2 separate regions of the Homo sapiens genome follow, and region 2 is linked to region 1. Evidence: promoter capture Hi-C in human tissues and cell types (Jung and others, 2019). All regions are on one chromosome and are shown on one strand. The core of a region is centred on a gene start or on the middle of the fragment in contact, and the rest is flanking DNA. Distances in the headings are between cores, read along the strand shown.

Evidence for each region. Contacts are between HindIII fragments. The study calls those that stand out against the background at their distance.
Region 2: a contact is called between a fragment that was not itself captured here and the fragment with the promoter of CBX6 in region 1, in 1 of the 25 tissues and cell types used here (hippocampus).

What each region holds. Positions count from the first base shown.
Region 1 is chr22:38,870,961-38,876,673 of GRCh38, forward strand. CBX6 (chromobox 6) reads right to left here and starts at 1,256. Exons shown (of 5, transcript NM_014292.5): 1 at 1,162-1,256; 2 at 942-985; 3 at 732-797; 4 at 520-586. The coding sequence starts at 1,230. RefSeq lists silencers at 878-927, 1,028-1,177, 1,208-1,467 and enhancers at 1,462-2,012, 2,013-2,562, 2,399-3,598, 3,415-3,594. The HindIII fragment of the contact is 23,948 bases long and covers 1-4,310 here.
Region 2 is chr22:38,300,268-38,306,214 of GRCh38, forward strand. It overlaps TPTEP2-CSNK1E (TPTEP2-CSNK1E readthrough), which reads right to left. Exons shown (of 15, transcript NM_001289912.2): 7 at 2,871-2,981; 8 at 2,594-2,742; 9 at 457-685. It overlaps CSNK1E (casein kinase 1 epsilon), which reads right to left. Exons shown (of 11, transcript NM_152221.3): 3 at 2,871-2,981; 4 at 2,594-2,742; 5 at 457-685. Among named protein-coding and RNA genes, the nearest start is that of CSNK1E, 14 kb to the right of the region's middle. RefSeq lists enhancers at 5,466-5,515, 5,616-5,865. The HindIII fragment of the contact is 4,513 bases long and covers 908-5,420 here.

The DNA.
Region 1 (5,713 bases), core at 6-2,505:
ATTTGAGGTCAAATTCAAGTTGGATCCCCAAGAAAGGAGGGGAGCCATGAAGAACAAATCCTGAAAGACTGAACGGGGGAAGCTGGGGGCAGGGAGGCAGGTGGTCCCCCAAATCCTCTCCTTGTGCCCTGCCAGGAGGTGGGACCCCACTCACTCTCCCCCTGGGTTCCAACTCCCAGCACAGTCATAACAGCTCAAACAAATGCCCCCTTCCCATGGGCATCCCCCACCTGCCTCAGCCACCCCCTTTCCTGGAGCCCTAAAGGCATCCCCAGCCCCTGGTTTCAACAGGGAGGATTATCCCCAGTCCCAAAACCCTCTTGTTGAAGCTGATGCTGGCTGAGGCCTGCCATCAGGGGCTTCTGGGGGGGCTCACAACCACCCCCTGCCCAGCTGGGGCCCCTCTGAAAAGGCCGGCCCGCTTGGGCGGCCGCGTATCTGTCCCTCCCTTCCAGGCCCCGTGCTGTGCCGGGGCTGGGGGCCCGAGAGGGGGATGCTGCTGGGGCTGGGCCAGGTTACCTTCAGGAGGAAAGTTTTGGGTTTGGGTCCCCTCTTCTTGGGCCCATACAGCTCACGCTCCCTCTCCCTGCGGCCGAAAAACACCAGAGGTTAAAAAGAGCCCCTTCCCGGGCCCCACTCCGCGCTGCCCTCCCCGGCTCTCCCGCTTCCCCGCGCGGCGCCCCAGCCGAGCCTCGGCCTCGCAGCCCCTGCCAGCTTCCCCAACAACTCACTTTTGTTCGAAGGCTGCAATGAGCCGCGAGTCCAGGATGTTCTCCTCGGGCTCCCAAGTGCTGTACCTGCCGAGTCACAAACGCACAAAATCAGGATGAAGACCAGAGAGGGACAGGCACGCGGCGAGAGCAAGAGCGCGCACCCCCACCCCAGGCCCCGGTGCCCGCTGCCTCCCCTCCCGCGACGCCCCCGGACCCCGCGACACTCACTTGATCGCCCACCCCTTCCATTTCACCAGGTACTCGATGCGTCCCTGAAAAACAGAGGGGAGAAAAACGGGGGTGGGGGTGGGGAGGATGCGGGGACGCGAGGAGGCGGCGGCGCGGGGCTGGGCGAGGGAGCCGGGCTAGCGGGACCGCTTCGCCCCGAGGGCCCCCGGCCCCGGCCCCGGCTGCGGACAGCGGCGGCCCGCCCCGGGCGGCGGCTCACCTTTCGGATCCGCCGTTTGATGATGGATTCGGCCGCGAAGACCCGCTCGCCCACTGCAGACAGCTCCATCTTGCTCAGCGGCACCCACAGCCCATAATACTCCCTGCGCCCGCGGCCGGTGCGGCACCGCTCGCGCACGCGCCGCAGCGCCCAGGCCCCGGCGGGCGGGAGCGCGGCGGGGCGCGCGCTCGCGTTCCAGCTGCGGGCCGTCACGTGATCCTCGCGGCTGGCGCGCGGTTGCCAGGACCTCCCCCTCCCCCGGGGCGGTTGCTAGGGAAAGTCGGCGCTCGCGGGGCGGGGGCGCGCGCTGGCTCTTAAAGGGGCCGCGCGGGCGGAGGGAGCAATTGCCGGCCGACCCGATGGGTGCCCGGCTTGTGGGCACGCTGCGGCCTTACGCTTATCACCCCCCCTCACATCTTGCCGGCGCCCGATCGCTGACACCCTCTCCTTGCCTCTTAATCCCCACGCGAGTCTCGCCAGGCCCCGGGCGGAGAAGGGCTGTGGAGCCCGAGTCTCGCCGCCACCGCGCATCTCCCGCAGCAGCCTGCAAACAGTTAAATATGATGCAGCAGAAATGCAGTTGCTGTTGCCTTGCCAGGCCTTGCGGGAATTTCTTTAAAACATCGCCCCCCACCCATTATTTATGTATTCGTGGGAGGGTGGTTTTGTAACCAGTTCAGAAGAGTTAAAACAAAAACGCCACCGCAGGAAGGGGGTGTGCGGCGAATGGGGCCGAGGAAGGCCGGAGTGACCGTGGGCATCTGTCTGCGGCCGGGGTCTCGGGCGGCACCTGTCCTCGCCCAGGAGACCGGGGAGGATTCGGCGGGGCCGGTGTGGCAGTGGGGGAGGGAGAGGGACCGCGGGCAGGAACGGGCTCCCCGCACTCCGCCTTGGGCCCACAGCGGGTCATCATCTGGTCATTCGGCAGAAACCGCCTTCGCGGTCATATCTGTGTTTTCCGATTCCCAGCACCCCTCCCGGCCCCCCGACCTGGCCGCGTCCCTCTCCCCGCCCGCAGCTGCGCGAAGCTTCCGCCATTGCTCTGGGGAGCCCAGATCCCAGCTTCCCACTTGAGGAGGGGCGGGGGATCGAGCTGGGGCTGTCCAGGAACGGACACACAAAAAATAGCCCTGCCGCGCAAAACGCTCCACTTTTTAAATGTTGAAATTACTTGAACTTTATTTCCCATTATGTTAGTAGTCTTGTTCTTTGTAAAACAATTTTAAAAATACAGATAAAACAACTGTCCATAACCCCCATAAAACCATTGTTAACATCTTCACCAATCTTCCAGCCTCTGCTCTATGCGTACATAAACTCACGTACACCTATGTATGTATGTATATACATACACATACACATTGTCTGTAGATTTAATTTTTTAACAAAATGGGATCACGCTATTCACACTGTTCTGGAATCTGCTTTTCTCCCTTAATGCTATAAAGTGGACATCTTTCAGTGTCATTAAATACAGATTTCACCATCCTTCCAGTGACCACCTTGGGGCTGAGATGGGGTGGGGAGGAATGGGGATTGTGAAGAGTCAGGGTTGTGTCTTGCGAACATCAATGGCTCATTAGGAAAGATTTTTGCGTTTCTGTGCTACAATGCCAATTCTTGGGTTTCAAATCCACCATAGCAAAATGTTAGTCTTTTTCTCCCAGCAGATTTGTCCAATTATTACCTTGAGAGAAATCCCTCTCCTCACTTAAAATCAGTATGTTCCAGGGAAACAGCTATTTGCTGGCCAGCCCAAGGTGAGCTGCTGTGGTAAAAATAGAAATGTCCTCCTGGGAGATGTGGGTGGTGGTGGGTGAGCAGGTGAGAGGAGTGGGTATGACAGTGTGTGTGTGTTCAGGCTGACGGAGACAGGCGGGGGATGAAGCAGGTGAGTCCACTTGTTGATTCATTCAGCAGTGTTTGTGAGCCCTTGTGAAGCACCAGGCTTTGTGTGAAACCATCAGGAAACAAAGGTGCCCCAGGCTGAGGAGCTGTCAGTGGAGTGAGAACGGCACCTGTCACACAGTGTGACTAATGCTAGAATAAAGGTGTAGGAGTTTCGTGTTGCTGCTCTCACAAATTAACACAAGCTCAGTGGCTTAAAATGACTCACATTTGTTATCTGATGACTCTGGAGGCGGGAAGTCCCAAATCAGTGTTACTGGGCCCAAGTGAAGGTATCCTCAGGGCTGGTCCCTTTTTGGAGGGTCAAGGAGAGTATCTGTTCCGTGCCTCATCCAGCTTCCAAATGTTGCTGGCATTTCTTGGCTCATGGCTTCATCACTCAAATCTCTGTTTCCACGATCCCTTTGCTCACTTCCTGCTTCTTTCTTTCTTTTGTTTTTGTTTTTGAGATGGAGTCTTGCTCAGTCACCCAGGTGGGAGTGCAGTGGCACAATCTCGGCTCACTGCAACCTCTGCCTCCCGGTTTCAAACAATTCTCCCAGTCTCAGCCTCCCAAGTAGCTGGGATTACAGGCATGCGTCACCACACCCGGCTAATTTTTGTATTTAGTAGAGATGGGGGTTTCACCATGTTAGCCAGGCTGGTCTCGAACTCCTGACCTCAAGTAATCCACCCGCCTCAGCCTCCCAAAGTACTGGGATTACAGGCGTGAGCCACCGCACCTGGCTTCTGCCTCTTTCTTTTAACAACACTTGTGATTACATTGGGTCTGCCCAAATAATTGAGAATGATCTTTCCGTCTCAACCTCAACTTAATCAGATTTGCAAAGACCCTCTTACCATAGGGTAACATGGATGGTAAGTAAGGTATCCTATCCACAGGTTCTGGGGGCTAGGGGCTAGGACACGGACATCTTTCGGGGAGGCATTATAAGCCTGCCACAAGAGTCTGTACAGGATGTCTTGGGAGTGGACATAGGGGAGCAACCTACCACGTGGAGGTGAGGCTGTGAGGGCTTCTCAGAGGTGGAGACCTCTGATTTGGGGCCGGAAAGACAAATGGGAATTGGCCTACAAGTGAAGAATGGGAAGGGTGTCCCGGGTGGAGGTGTCAACTTGAACAAGCACATCAGAGCCTGAGAGTGTGTTTTGGGGATGGGAAAGAAGTCTGCTATGGCATGGGTTGGGGCAGTACGGCAAAGGATGGCAATGGAAAGATGGGTTGGACTGAACTTGGGAAGGGCCTTGAATGCTGGGTAGGTTTGGACTTTGTCTCAGGCAGTGGGAAGCGTGAGGGAGTTTTGAGTAGAGGAGGGATGTGATGAGATGAAGTGGGAATTCGGGCAGCCAGGCTTGGATCCCTTTTCTTTTGGTAATCGTGTGATGTTGTACAAGTCCTTTTCTACTCTCTGGATCTTAGTTTTTCAACTTCAAAAATGGGGGAGGAACTGGCCCTTTTTCATGCTCTATATTTTTTGGCAGGTGACTTTTTTTTTTTTTTTTTTTGAGGTGGAGTCTCCCTTTGTTGCCCAGGCTGGAGTGCAGTGGCGTGATCTTGGCTCACTACAACCTCCGCCTCCCAGGTTCAAGTGATTCTCCTGCCTTGGCCTCCTGAGTAGCTGGGACTATAGGCGCGCCACCTTGCCAGGCTAATTTTTGTATTTTTAGTAGAGACGGGGTTTCACTATGTTGGCCAGGCTGGTCTCAAACTCCTGACCTCGTGATCCGCCCGCCTTGGCCTCTCAAAGTGCTGGGATTACAGGCGTGAGCCACTGCGACAAGCTGCAGGTGACTCTTTTGAAAATCTGTTATTTCCAAGTCATTCCAAAATTTTGGAGAGATTTATGGACTTCTCACATGCTTTTCCCTTGTTTATGAGCACCTGGAGAAGATAGTCTCTATTCTATGAGAAAAAAATCCCCTCCACCTCTGACAGTCTATAGTTCTGAGGTTTGGTGTAACATCACAAAGGAAAAAAATTGATCTCTTAGCCTGTGTGAGTTGTTGCCCAGACAGAGGGCAAATCAGTTTCCTATGAAATTGTGAACCAAAACTATCTGAGACAAGTCTCAATCAATGTAGAAAGTTTATTTTGCCAAGGTTAAGGACGTGCCCGTGACATAGCCTCAGGAGGTCCTGATGACTTGTACCCAAAGTGATAGGGGTATAGCTTGGTTTTATACATTTTAGGGAGATATGAGACATCAATCAGTACATTTAAGATGTACATTGGTTCAGTCTGGAAAGGTGGGGCAACTCGAAGTGGGGGCTTCCAGGTGGTAGGTAGATAAGAGACAAAAGGTTGTATTATTTTGATTCTGATCAGCCTTTCACTGAGTACACAATTTACATGTGAGGAGGGTAGAGGAAGAGTCACTTATGCCTCAGTCTGTCTCAGTGAATCTGCATTTTTACATAAGCAACAGGCGGAGGAAGCAATCAGATATGCATTTGTCTCGGGTGGGAAGAGGGATGACTTTGAGTTCTGTCCTTGTCCCGCATCTGTTAAGATAAACTATCAATTTACATTGCCAAGGTGAAATTCAACAGAACTGTTTTAGGGTAAAGATGCTGAGGCCCACATGGAAATTCCTTGGGGGCAAACTCTGAAGGAGATATGTAGTTTTTTAATCTTTGTAACTAT
Region 2 (5,947 bases), core at 1,914-4,413, 570 kb before region 1:
TTGGGCCTAGTTTTTCCAGTTCAGGCACTTAATCATTCAATGACTATGAGAGGGCACCTACTGCCCCCTTGCCTGGCCCACCCCGTGGAGAGGTCACAAGCTTCAGCATCAGACAGGGCCGGGGTCAAGTCCAGCTTTGGCATTAGCTAAGCTGCATGACCTTAAGCAACCCATGTTAAACCTCTGAGCCTGTATCTTCCAGCCTGCACCAACAGGGCGGAGGAGGAAGCAGGGCCAGGGAAGGCGCCCGGCACACACAGCTTGGCTTACGAAGGGGAAGACCCGACTGTGCAAGGACACGGAATAAGCACGAGCTTGGGGGCAGACGGGGTGGGGACTTTCTCACTAGAAAAGAGCCTGGGGGCCTCCATCAGGGTAGGGGGTGAGAGGGCTCCAGAGAGCTGGGCCCCAGCCAGTGGCCCCGGGTGCACACTGCTCCAGGCCTGGCTCCCTCACCAATGCCCAGGTGCGTGTTGATGGAAGCGTAGCGGGCCGTGCCGGTCAGGTTCTTGTTTTCCCGGTAGGGAATGTGCTGGTGGGTGCGGGCGTCCCGGTACTTCTTGGCCAGGCCGAAGTCGATGATGTAGACCAGGTTGCCCTTCTTCCCCAGCCCCATGAGGAAGTTGTCGGGCTTGACGTCCCGGTGGATGAAGTTCTTGGAGTGGATATACTCGATGCGGCTGATCTGGGGAGGAGGGGGGCCATTTGTTCAACAGAGGGGCCCTTGCCTAGCACTCTGGGCCAGGCAGGGGCTGGGGCCACAGAGGTGGAAAGGCAGAGGGAGAAAGGCCTGCCTTCGACCATGAAGGATAACTAAGGGGCAGGCCAGAGAAGGCCTCCTGGAAAATGTGACATCAGGATGAACTCTAAAGGGGGAGTTCACCAAGTTGGCTGTGAGACAGAGAAAGAGAGTATTGCAGGAAAGCTAATGGGAAGATCCAGAAATGAAGAGTCTGCTAGAAAGGCAACTGGTTCCCCATGGAAGGCTTGCCTGCCCGGCCCCACACTCACAGGACTTAGGGAGCCAGAGAGGCAACAGATGTGGGCGAGGGGCAGGCAGGGAACATGGGGGAAGCCTAGACCAGGAAGAGGTGACAGAGGCAGAACACAAAAGACAGGGCTTCCGAAGGATGCCAAACTCAGACAGGCACATGGCCCTCTTTCCTTTGATATTTTTTTTTTTGAGATGGAGTCTCGGTCTGTTGCCCAGGCTGGAGTGCAGTGGCAAAATCTCGGCTCACTGCAACTTCTGCCTTCAGGGTTCAAGTGATTTTCCTGCCTCAGCCTCCCGAATAGCTGGGACTATAGGCACGCGCCACCACACCTGGCTAATTTTTTGTATTTTTAGCAGAGATGGCGTTTCACCATGATGGTCAGACTGGTCTCAAACTCCCGATCTCAGGAGATCCGCCTGCCTCGGCCTCCCAAAGTGCTGGGATTACAGACTTGAGCCACCTTTTCAGTCGAGTTTTTAAAACTCAAACTAATATCCATCCACATGCCGTGGCCTCTGGCTCTGGCCCCAGGTTCAGCACAGCTCAACATCTCCTGCACCTTTCTTGAGTTTCACACCATGAGGGGCTCTGGCGACCCTCTGCTCACACACCTTCAGCCTACATCGCAGGGCTTTTGCAGACCAAGATTAAAACCCCTGTACGAGATCTCCACATTCCATTCCAAGTTCAAAATTCTACAGTTTTGTATTTTTAAGAAGCTTTCCTCCCTATGCTGATGAAGGGCTTAGTACTTAACAACAGCCTGTTAGAGGGGCCTGTTTTGGCAAGGCGCTGAATGGTATCTCACCTAATCCCCTCAACAACCAACAAAGGAGAGACTCTCACATGAGGCCACTGAGGCTCAGAGAGGTTCGGCGTTCACCTACGGTCACTGGTCTGGAACAGGACCAGGTCTGTGTGACCGACCGCAGGCTTTACATTACCCAGGGCAGGCCAGACGTGGTGGATCATGCCTGTGATCCCGTGTTAATTCCCATCTTGGGAGGCCAAGATGGGAAGACTGCTCAAGGCCAGGAGTTTGAGACCAGCCTGGTCAACACAGTGAGACCCCCATCTCTATTTCTTACAATTAAATGATATTTTTGAAATAAATAAATAAAACTACCCCAGGCAGAGTCCCAGGCCCTGACTCGGCAGGTCTGGAGTTGGGCCTGAAATCACATTTTAAATAAACAACTTGGCTGGGCACGGTGGCTCACGCCTGTAATCCCAGCACTTTGAGAGGCTAAGATGGGCGGATCACTTGGTAAAACTCTGTCTCTACTAAAAATACAAAAATTAGCCCAGCGTGGTGGCAGGTGCCTGTAATCCCAGCTACTCATGAGGCTGAGGCAGGAGAATCGCGTGAACCTGGGAGGCGGATGTTGCAACGAGCTGAGATCGCACCACTGCGCTCCAGCCTGGGCGACAGAGTGAGACTCCGCCTCAAAAAATAAATAAACACCTACAATTCTATAGCCAGTGGACAAGGTCCCCTGGCCCAGGCCCATCCTCTGGCATCCTCTGGGGGCAGGAGGCAGGGCTGGTATCCTGGGCCCACAGGCATCTGGCTGGGGATGGAGGGGACGGGGACTCACCATCTGGTCGGCCAAGAGCAGCACCGTCTTGAGGCTGAATTTGCGGGAACAGAAGTTGAACAGGTCCTCGAGGCTAGGCCCCAGCAGCTCCATGACCATCACGTTGTAGTCGCCCTCAGCTCCGCACCACTTGATGGACGGGATCCCCACTGGGGGTCAAGCAGAGGGCCTCTGTCAGGGGTCAGAGGCAGGCAGCCAGCCACGCCCGGCCCACCCTGTGCTCATGGCTGCCCACCGCCACCCACCCGGCGCCCGCCGCCGCCCACCCTGCGCTCACCGCCACCCTGCATCATCTTGTAGAACTTGCTCTCGATGTGCAGCTGGGGGTGCTTTGTCTTCACACACTCCAGCTTGATGGCGACTTCCTCACCAGAGGCGATGTTGGCACCTGCCCGGGGCAGGGAGGCAAGGGACCAGGGTCACCCTCAAAGGCCAGGCAGTCCCAGGCGCCCCACTAAGCATTTCTGAGATCTGGCGTGTGCCGGGCCCGGGGCCATCTGCCCTTGAGGAGCTCTTGGGGGAGGCTGGGAAGGGGGCAAAGGAGCCCCGGCAAAGGGTTCCTGAGGGGAAAGAAGGTCAGCGCTGTGAGGGACAGAGGTGACACACAAGGGCTACCCAGGGCCACAGGTTGGGGCGACAAGAAGGCCCGATGTGAGTGGGGCAAGGGTCAGGTATGCAAAAGGCTCACAGACCACCTAAGGGAGGGGGCTGAGTCCTAGAGCAAATTCAGGCAGTGAGGTCTGTCGGGTTGAGATGGTGGCACGTGCAGAAGAGGCCCAATGGGGCTGGGCTGCCGAACACACCAGAACAAGCCAGGACCACCCTGGCCTACAGGATGAGGATGGGACAGCCGCAGCAACCCCTCAGTCAATGCTGATGCCTTCAGAGGCAGCCCTGCACATTCTAATCCAGTGTCTCATTCGATTCTCAACCCCCTTGTAGAGATGAGAAAACAGAGACCCAGCTAGAGACCCAGCTCAAGGTCACCTGACCTGTAAATGGCGGCCTTGAGATCAACCCCGGCTCTGCTGGCCTCCAGCATAGGTCAGAGGTCCTGCCTGCACCTCCCCGTCTCCCCCAGTCCACTCCTGGCTTCTCAAGGGGCTCTAAGAAAATACCCTCACACACACCAAGGCCCCGCTCTCTGCCTGGGCCCACTGCCCAACTCAAGAAGTCACAAGAAAGACCAAGCCCAAAGTGTACCTTGCCTCAGTTTCCCTGGCTGTATGGGTGGATGAGATGAAGGGCTGGGGCTAGGCTGGGCGACAGGGTGTCTCCTTCCTGGGGCCAGCAGCGAGCCCAGCAGGAGGAGTAGGACAGTGTCGCAACAGGACACAAACAGGCCAGAACAACCCCCAGGGACACAGCCTCAGGAGGAGTTCAAGACAGGAGAAAGGCAGGACCTCACATCAGAGGAAAAGATGAGACTGTTCATTAATAATGTCCCTGAACAACCGGCTGGCCACCTGAGAAAAGACACCATGGCTCACACCACAACCAGGAGAAATCTCAAGTAGAGGAAAAGTTTGTATATAAGAAATAAAGGTGTGGGTGTGAGTTGGCACAGCCCCTGTGCACCTCTTGGGTGAAGCTGAACATAAACAAACGCTCGCCCAAGCAACCCCACTCCTGAGTGTACATCCTTCAGAAACACGTGTGCACCAGGGGGACAGGACAAGGATGGACACAGGAGCAAACAGCCCAAGTGCTCAGCAGCAGAAGAACAGGAACAGTGGCGCAGTCACCAGGGAATCCCAGGCGGCAGTGAAGAGGAAAGGATGCCTGCTTCACACAATGACCCTGGTCCCAGGGGTGCACTCCTCACAGCAGCCAGAGGGTGGAAACAACAAACATCTGTCACAGATGCAAGGATGAATGGAATGCAGTGCCTCCATGCGGCGGAATATTATTCAGCAATAAAGAGGAATAAAGTACCGATACACGCTACGACACGAGTGCACCTTGAAAACATTCTACCCGAGGCCAGGCACAGTGGCTCACGCCCGTAATCCCAATACTTTGGGAGGCTGAGGCGGGTGGATCACAAGGTCAGGAGTCCGAGACCAGCCCAGCCAAGGTGGTGAAACCCTGTCTGTACCAAAAATACAAAAATTAGCCGGGCGCAGTGGCAGGCATCTGTAATCCCAGCTACTTGGGAGGCTGAGGCAGGAGAATCACTTGAACCCAGGAGGCGGAGGTTGCAGTGAGCCGAGATTGTGCCATTGCACGCTAGCCTGGGTGACGGAGTGAAACTCCAGCTCAAAAAAAAAAAAAAAAAAAAAAAAAAGAAGAGTGCAAGCACAGTTCTACTTGTTTCCATATCAAAACAGGCAACAAGACTGGACAATACAGATTTAAACACGAAAGAAAGGAAAAAGATTAAATGTCAGACGGTGGTTCCCAGGGAGGGACACCTTAGGCCATGCAGGTATTCTATACGTATTCTTTGCATCCACTCAACGTTTAATAAGAAATAACAATGAAATGTTAGAAGAAGGGAGAATTGCCTTATAGCCTTGGGGTTAGGCAAAGCTTTTATTTTTATCCCTGATTCAAAATCCTAAAGCCATTTAAAAAAAAAAAAAAAAAGCTCCTTCCTCTCCAAAAAAAAAAGAATCCCTTCTGCATGGCAAAAACACCGGAAATAAAGTCCTAAGAGACATACTCACTTGCAATTCTTATCACAGGCAAAGAGCTAATATGTAATGAGCTCCTACAAATCAGTCAGAAAAAGACTCAGCAGAAAATAGGCCAAAGGATTTGAAACACACACTTCACAGAGAAAGAAATCATTAATAGAAAAGCCTTACTCATAGGGAAAGATGCCCAACCTCCTTGTAAGAGAAATGCAAATTAATATGATCGTGAAAGACCATGTTTCACCTAGGATTGTCAAAAGTCTTACGAGATAACACACCTGTCTGTCGGCAAGACTGTGGGGGCGCTGAGCACTCCTCCCAGGTGGTGGAGGCGTCAACTGCTGAGTCGCCACTGGAGGGGGATTTGACGCTACTCAGCCCTGACCAGCAACCCCGCTTCTGGGAGTTTACCTGACATCCTAGCACGGTGCAAAACAAGGCGGGGACAAGGCTGTCGGCTGCAGGCTGTTTGGAACAGCAGAAGCTTGGAAACAACCCAAATGTCCCTCCTGAGGGGGCTGATTAAATAAAGAATAGCCCATCCATAAAACAGAATACAATGGAAAAAGAACCAGGAAGCTCTCTCTGCACACAAGTGGAAAGATCTCCAAGATACAGGAAGTGAAAAAGCAAAGCACAGAACAGTGTATATTCCACACTCTCATTTCAGTTTTCTTTAAAAAGGTGGGGAACTAAGTATCTGTGTTTGGCTCTA